Regions from separate parts of the Homo sapiens genome. Here region 2 is linked to region 1. The links are contacts of gene promoters, found by promoter capture Hi-C in blood cells and fetal thymus (Javierre and others, 2016). All regions are on one chromosome and are shown on one strand. The core of a region is centred on a gene start or on the middle of the fragment in contact, and the rest is flanking DNA. Distances in the headings are between cores, read along the strand shown.

Region 1 (3,223 bases), core at 281-2,780:
GAGCAGGAGGTTGGGGGCTAGTAGCGTGGGGGCTGTAGAGTTACGAACCCCAAGAGTCGTGCTGGCAAGTGGGGCTGTGGCTGAAACACACTTCATCATGTCTACACCTCAGACCTCCCCTGGCCACGCCCTGAACTTGGCCACACCAGCCCACATTCCCAGCGACCCTGTGCACTCAGCCCTGGCCTGCCACCCCCTGGGCCTTGTACCCCTGGCCATACCTTCAGCCCTCCATCCTCCATCTTCACACCCACAGCCACAGCCCTCGGCCACCAGCCCCCACATATATACTAACAAGCCTGCGCCAACCCCAGTAATACCCACAGTCCAGCACTAAAGTGCCCCCCACACCCACAGCCCTCCGCTGCAGACCCCTGGCCACACCCTGAGCCTACACAGCAGCCTTCTCCATCCCCACACCCGCAGCCCTGGGGCTGAGGCCCCTGGCCACAAACCTGCATCCCTTCCTGAGACCCCTGACCATAGCCTCAGCCACTCACCCCCTCCAATACCCGCAGCCCTTTATCAAGGCGCCCTGACCCTCAGCACCCCTTTGTCCACACACCCTCAGCCCTCTGGCCACACCCTCAGCCTGCACTGAAGGCCCCAGTCCACATCCACACACTAACATTATAAGACTCCCAGGTACTATGCGGAGATCCCCTGCGTAGAGACCTCCCCACCACATCCCCCTCCTCCACTGCCACCTCCTGACCACACCCTCGGTCTCAGCAACCATCTTCTAGCTCTGCCTTTTACACTAGGGCTTCCAGTGACCACGGCCTGGGCTCTGCCCGGCTGCCCCATCTTCCACCAAAAACTCCTCGCCAGTGACCACACTCCCATCCCTAAGTGGCAGTTTCTGGGACTGTGAGCACCGGTGGTTCCTACGTTACAGGGACCATAACCCCAGTCCACGCTGCACTCCCCTTCCCTTTCCCTGGGTGCAACCTCCCACCAGGGACCCCAAGACCCGCACTTGGTTCACCAAGGGTAACGTCCAGGGGAGCTTGGATGCCACAGGGTGCTTGGCCCAAGCACTGGGCGGATCCTGCGTGCAGTGCTCACTCCTGTCCGTGGAAAGATGGATTCTTGGTCATCTCAGCGCGGTCAGGTGGCGCTGGGTTGCAGGCCGCAGCCCCATGGGTCTGCAGGCCATGGATGGAGTGGCCACACCCGTGAACTGGAGCCACCCGTCCCGCTCCCACTGGGACAGCTGGAGTCATCAATCAGCCGGACCAGGAGGTGGGGGCTGCGAGGTGGAATGCTTGGGGCCAGGGCAGGGCCGCTCAGCTGGCTCCTCGGCTGGGACCGCCGGAGGTTGGGACCCTTTCCAGGCTGCTCCCCCCAACCCTCATCGTGCAGGATACTGATTGGGGTGGCGGGCATCTGGGTCTCCTATGGGCTTCTACCTCGCGGCTGCTCCTGAAGTGTGCGTTCGGAAGGACAGAACGACGCAGGAATGGACCGATGGACGCGGGAGACCAGGCGGCTCCGCAGCTCCGCTCCCTGCCGGCTCCCGGGTGGGACTGCAGCCCAGGCGGCTCCGCCGTATTATCCCCTGTTTCTCGGTCTCCATAGAGACGGCGAGTCCCACCCCCGAGGCTGTCTCGGCGGGAGAGTGACCAAGGTCACGCCGGCCCCGCCCACGAGGCCCCGCCCTCCCCGAGACTCTCCGGGAGCCGCATCCCGCCCCTCCCCCGCAACTCCGCGGTCCTCGCGACGGCGAGACCAGCGCTCTGCAGTTCGGGGCGTCTTCGGACGGCCCCCTGAGGAAACAGCCTCCCATCCTGGGATGTGCCTAAAGCTCTAAGCGGCCCCAATCTCCAGAAGAGATCCAGCTCCCCAGAGAGTCAACCAGAGGCCACTGGGGAGCTGCGCGGGGCATTGGTGGGGCTTGGGGAATCGGGAAGGAGCTCTCCCTCAGTGACAGGGGTATACGGTTGACTCAAGAGCACTGCCATCCACTGAACGGATGGCACCCCCAGGCCACAACTCCCGTGCTCTCTTGGGTAGGATTCAGAGCCTGGAGCAGTGGGGAAGAAGGGAGGGGACTCCCTACGAGCGAATCGCGCTCGCCCAGCCCCAGGATGCTGGCATTCGACGGCAGCCCTGCTGCCGGGGAAAAGCTGCGGGACCTCCTGGCTCGGCCCCCTCCTTTCGCCGCCACCTCCCCACGGCCTCGCAGCCTCAGCGCCCACTGCTGCTTTCGGAGCCCAAAGCCTGCTTTCTCTCGGCCTCCCAGTGCAAAGCCCATCTTTAAGAAAAATAACCTCCTCCAGGCCGCCTTCTAAGGCCTTTCCTAACCACGAGCCGCACGTGAGCACCTCCACAGGGCAGCCTGGGTGGCTACCTACTATACAGGGACCTCCTCCCCGCCCCCGGTCCACTGGCCAGGGTCGGGCTTCTGGATGGCCCGTGGCCCCTGCCATTAAGAAAGTAAGCGCGACGTCCGCAAAAGCATAAAAAAGTTTATTGGAGCATCACAGCCGGTGGGGCGGGTATTGCTGAGTCGTGGGGGAGGGAGGCCGATCCCGCCGGCCGTAGGGGCCCCTAAAGTGCACTCGGTGCGGCAAGGATGGGGTGTTGCATAGAGAGTCAGGCCGGCCGCTCTAACTCGGCCCTCCGGCCTCTCGGCCCAGCTAAGCCAGACCAGCCTCCCGGCCGCCCGGCGCCCTGGGCTCGCCGCTGCTCGGGCTCACGAAAACGGCGGGCGCACGCGCCTGCCGCGCCAGCGTGGGCTGTCGGCCCCGGCCCCGCGGGGCGGCCAGAGCGGCGCTGCCCAGGCGCGTCTGCGCCACTGGAATCTCGTCCACGGACTCTGCCGACGCCGAGTGGTAGGCGCCGGCAGGGCCAGCGGCGTGCACAGGGCTGGCGTCCGCGGAATCCGTCGACGAGCTGGAGCGGCGGCTGGGGGCCCTAGGCCCTGCGCAAGGGAAGGGAACATGAGCCCAGTGGCTGCGGCTCGCTTGTGGCTCTGCCTTCCCCTCCCTCGAGTTCCCAGAGCAGGACCCGGACAGGGAGAGGCGCTCACCCGACGCCGGATCCGAGGTCTCAGACGTTCGCACTTTATACACGCGCCTCTTCCTCTTTTTCTGCAGAGACACGGGGGAGCCTGAGGGCCCCACATCGCCAAAAGAAGCAGAGGCGAGCGCCAGGGTAGAGGCTTCTTTCTATCCCACTCCACCTGGACCGGAGGCCCAGCACAGTCCCTCCTACCTGG
Region 2 (3,223 bases), core at 229-2,728, 100 kb before region 1:
ACTGCTCTGCTTGCCTCCCTGTCCCACCACTCTTCTGGCCCTGGCCTTCTCCTTAACCCCATCTTGGCTTACTTCCTCTTGCCTTGCACCACTTATTGTGGGGCAGGGGAAGAGGTGGAGAAGGTACAGGGTGCCCCAGGGCCTGAGGCCTGTCACACATACCCACAGCCGATTGGCCAGGGAGACCACCTTGGCTGTGATGGCTTTGGGGTCCTTTTGCCTGATGGAATCCATGATGATGTCAGCCAGGAAGCAGTGACATTTCTGTGCATAAAACATCTCTTCCCAGGACAGAGAGAAACTCAGGAAAGTCACTTCTGTGGAGGAGGGAAAGTGGATGTGGCCACATCTGTCAATAGCTAGGGCCTTAGAGACAGTGTGAGGAGGGGGAGAGGGGTAGGGCCCCCAGGGGCCACTGTCTCTGCCTGAAGTACCCTGGGAGGGGGCTCAGGCATCCTCACGAGGAGGCGCAGGGCTCGGCCTGGCTCCAGAGCCTCACCTTGGGGCTGGGGACTGGCTGTGGGTGTTGTGTGCCTGAGGTTGTCCATCTCCGTGGTATAGATGATGCTGTCCTCAAAGAACATGCAGAAGCCATCGCTGCCCACCACGGGGGGGTGAGTCACTTTGAGGATAACCCCTAGGCTGTCCACCTCACTGGCCTCGGGCAGAGGCTGCTCAGGGGCAGGGCTTTCTGTGAAAACAACATAGGGAGGGGGCTCTCCTTTTAAAAAAAAATTTTTTTTCAAGATAGAGTTTTGCTTTTGTTGCCCAGGCTGGAGTGCAATGGCACAATCTTGGCTCACTGCAACCTCTGCCTCCCAGGTTCCAGCGATTCTCCTGCCTCAGCCTCCTGAGTAGCTGGGATTACAGGCACCTGCCACCACGCCCGGCTAATTTTTGTATTTTTGGTAGAGATGGGGTTTCACCAGGCTGGTCTCGAACTCCTGACCTTAGGTGATCCACCCGCCTCAGCCTCCCAAAGTGCTGGGATTACAGGCGTGAGCCACACGCACAGGCTTTTAAAATTCTTTTCTTCAATTACCATCAAATCTTCATAAGCAGGGACTCTCCTTAAGCCACCTCAGAGCCCAAGCAGGAAGGGGACCTCTGGTGACAGGCCAGTACAATCAAGTCACCCCAGCCTTGCAACAGCTGCCACCTCTAGTTTCTCAGAAGTGACACCCTGGGCTGGCAGGGGCCTGTCCTGGCCACTCCTCTCTTCATTGCCCTGGCATCACTGCAAGCCAAATCCTGAACATTTTGGAACTCGAAGAAACTCCAGATTCCTCTGTTGAACTAAGACGTATCAAATGGGGCTGAGGGCTGGAAATCTTTATAAAATTTTAAGTTGAGAACTTTTGGGGCCAGCCTTTGATGCATGTCCAAAGAGTGGACATTTGTCATCCCAACCTTGACAGACCAACTTAGGGCTCACAGGCAAGAGTCCAAGAAGGCCCCTCCAAGCAGGGCTGGAGCCACTAATAGGGAAGGTGACAATACTGCAGGCAGGGCTTTGAGGGAGCAGAGGCAGCATCCTGGCACAGCGATTTTCAGCACAGTTCCCTGGCCACCTTCCCTTAGCTGGCTACACAAGCTCTCTCTCCAGTTCAGTCCCTGTAGCCCCTGCTGTCTCCTGGGCTTCTCCACCTGGATGTCCCTCGGCATTTCACACTCAGTATGTGCCCTTCCCCAAGCTCTGCTCTTTCTCTTACCCACACCTCAGTAAGGGCCTATCCACCCCCTTGCAGTCCCACAGGCTAGAAACCTGGCTTCTCCTTGGCCCATCCCTCCTTCCCTCCACTACCTGCCTAGCCTGCTTCCCCTAGCCTAGAAAGAACTCCAAGTGGCTTCGAATACCTAGCTCCTGCTGCATTTCCTCTGCTCCTGGAGCAAACTTTCTGATGGGCACACCTGACCCCGTGCTCTTGTCTAAAATCCTTCAGACGCTGCTCACTCCCATCCTGGTCAGAATGGAGTACCACGTCCTGAAGCTGGCCCACGAGGCCTGTCCTTATGACTTCTGTCTTCAGCCTCATCTTTTATCACGTCTGCATGTGAAGCCTGGCCTCCAGCTAGACCCATGCCCTGCGCTTCCAAACATCCTGGACTTCTCCTTCCTTCCCCTGCTGACTCCCCAGCCCTCAGCCTCTTTTGTGCTCCTGCTTCATAGGCACCTCCTTCCCACAGCACTCATCCCTTCGCCGTGTGTGTTCTCCTGGCCCCTCCAGCCATGCCAATGTGCCAGTCATTTCTGTGTCTGCTGCCTGGCACAGAGATGGCATTGGTGAGCGGGGGGGTCTAGTCCTCCTTTGTCACTAACTTGCTCTGCCATCTTGGCCAAAGAGTTTGCCTTCTCTGTTGTGAATAAGACTTAGATCAAAGGGGGACAGGACTCACCTCTCTCCTTGGTCCTCTGCTTGCTCCAGTCCTTCAGGGTGCCAGCTCTTTTTGGGGGTAAGTATGGCTTGAAGGTTGGCTCTGGCCCCTTGTCTTTCGCTCCAGCTCCAGCCCCTGCCTGTGGTCCTGGATCCTTCTCTGAGGCTGTGGAATGGGCTTTCCAGGCAGCTGAGGTGCTGGGCTGGGAAGCAGCCTCGCTTCCCAAGGGGAGCTGCAGGGTGGCCTCCTCCAAGGGGCTGCTCCGTGTGGCTGTCAGTGGCTGGAATTCCCACTGTTTGCAATTGACCATGTCCCATTCTCTCACCAGGGAGATGAGTTTTTGCATGGGAGTGGCGGGAGGGTCTTTGGTTTCAGATTTCTGTGTGAGGTTGATTGTGGTGCATTTCTTCTTTGGGGGGCTCTCAGGGTGGCTCCCCCAGTGTCCAGGATTGGTACACAAGCCACGGCAGTGTGAGTATGTGCTAGGGTTGCCAGCCCTCTTGGCATTTCGGCATAGGGACACCTGGATGGGCCGAGTGTACTGCTCAGCCTCATCCATCTGGTTGGACCTGACCAGGTTTCCCTTAGCCTTGTTCCATGGAGTCCTGTCACTGCAGTCTTCGAAGTCCACAGGCATGTAGGCTGTGGTCTGGGGAGGGAAGGGCACAGTAACTCTGGATAGGTTGGGCATGGACATCAACGCCTTGCCCAAGATCTAATAAGCTGGGCCTCCAAGACTTCACTTGCTCTCCCTGAACAATCCCATCCCTGACAGGGGTCACCCATTTGAGCTTTGCTCAGGCTGAGTGGGGATGGTGCCAGCCCAGTGGCCTGTCATTCCAACAGG

The links. Contacts are between HindIII fragments. The CHiCAGO score rates a contact against its expected background, and 5 or more counts as called.
Region 2: a contact is called between a fragment that was not itself captured here and the fragment with the promoter of TPPP3 in region 1, in 1 of 17 cell types (endothelial precursors). The highest score is 5.6, in endothelial precursors.

What each region holds. Positions count from the first base shown.
Region 1 is chr16:67,391,968-67,395,190 of GRCh38, forward strand. It overlaps TPPP3 (tubulin polymerization promoting protein family member 3), which reads right to left and starts at 1,531. Exons shown (of 4, transcript NM_015964.4): 1 at 1,413-1,531. ZDHHC1 (zDHHC palmitoyltransferase 1) reads right to left here. Exons shown (of 12, transcript NM_001323627.2): 10 at 3,220-3,223; 11 at 3,035-3,095; 12 at 2,185-2,926. The coding sequence ends at 2,643. The HindIII fragment of the contact is 5,780 bases long and covers 1-3,223 here.
Region 2 is chr16:67,291,147-67,294,369 of GRCh38, forward strand. It overlaps KCTD19 (potassium channel tetramerization domain containing 19), which reads right to left. Exons shown (of 16, transcript NM_001100915.3): 12 at 2,398-3,025; 13 at 500-691; 14 at 163-317. Among named protein-coding and RNA genes, the nearest start is that of PLEKHG4, 13 kb to the left of the region's middle. The HindIII fragment of the contact is 4,060 bases long and covers 1-3,223 here.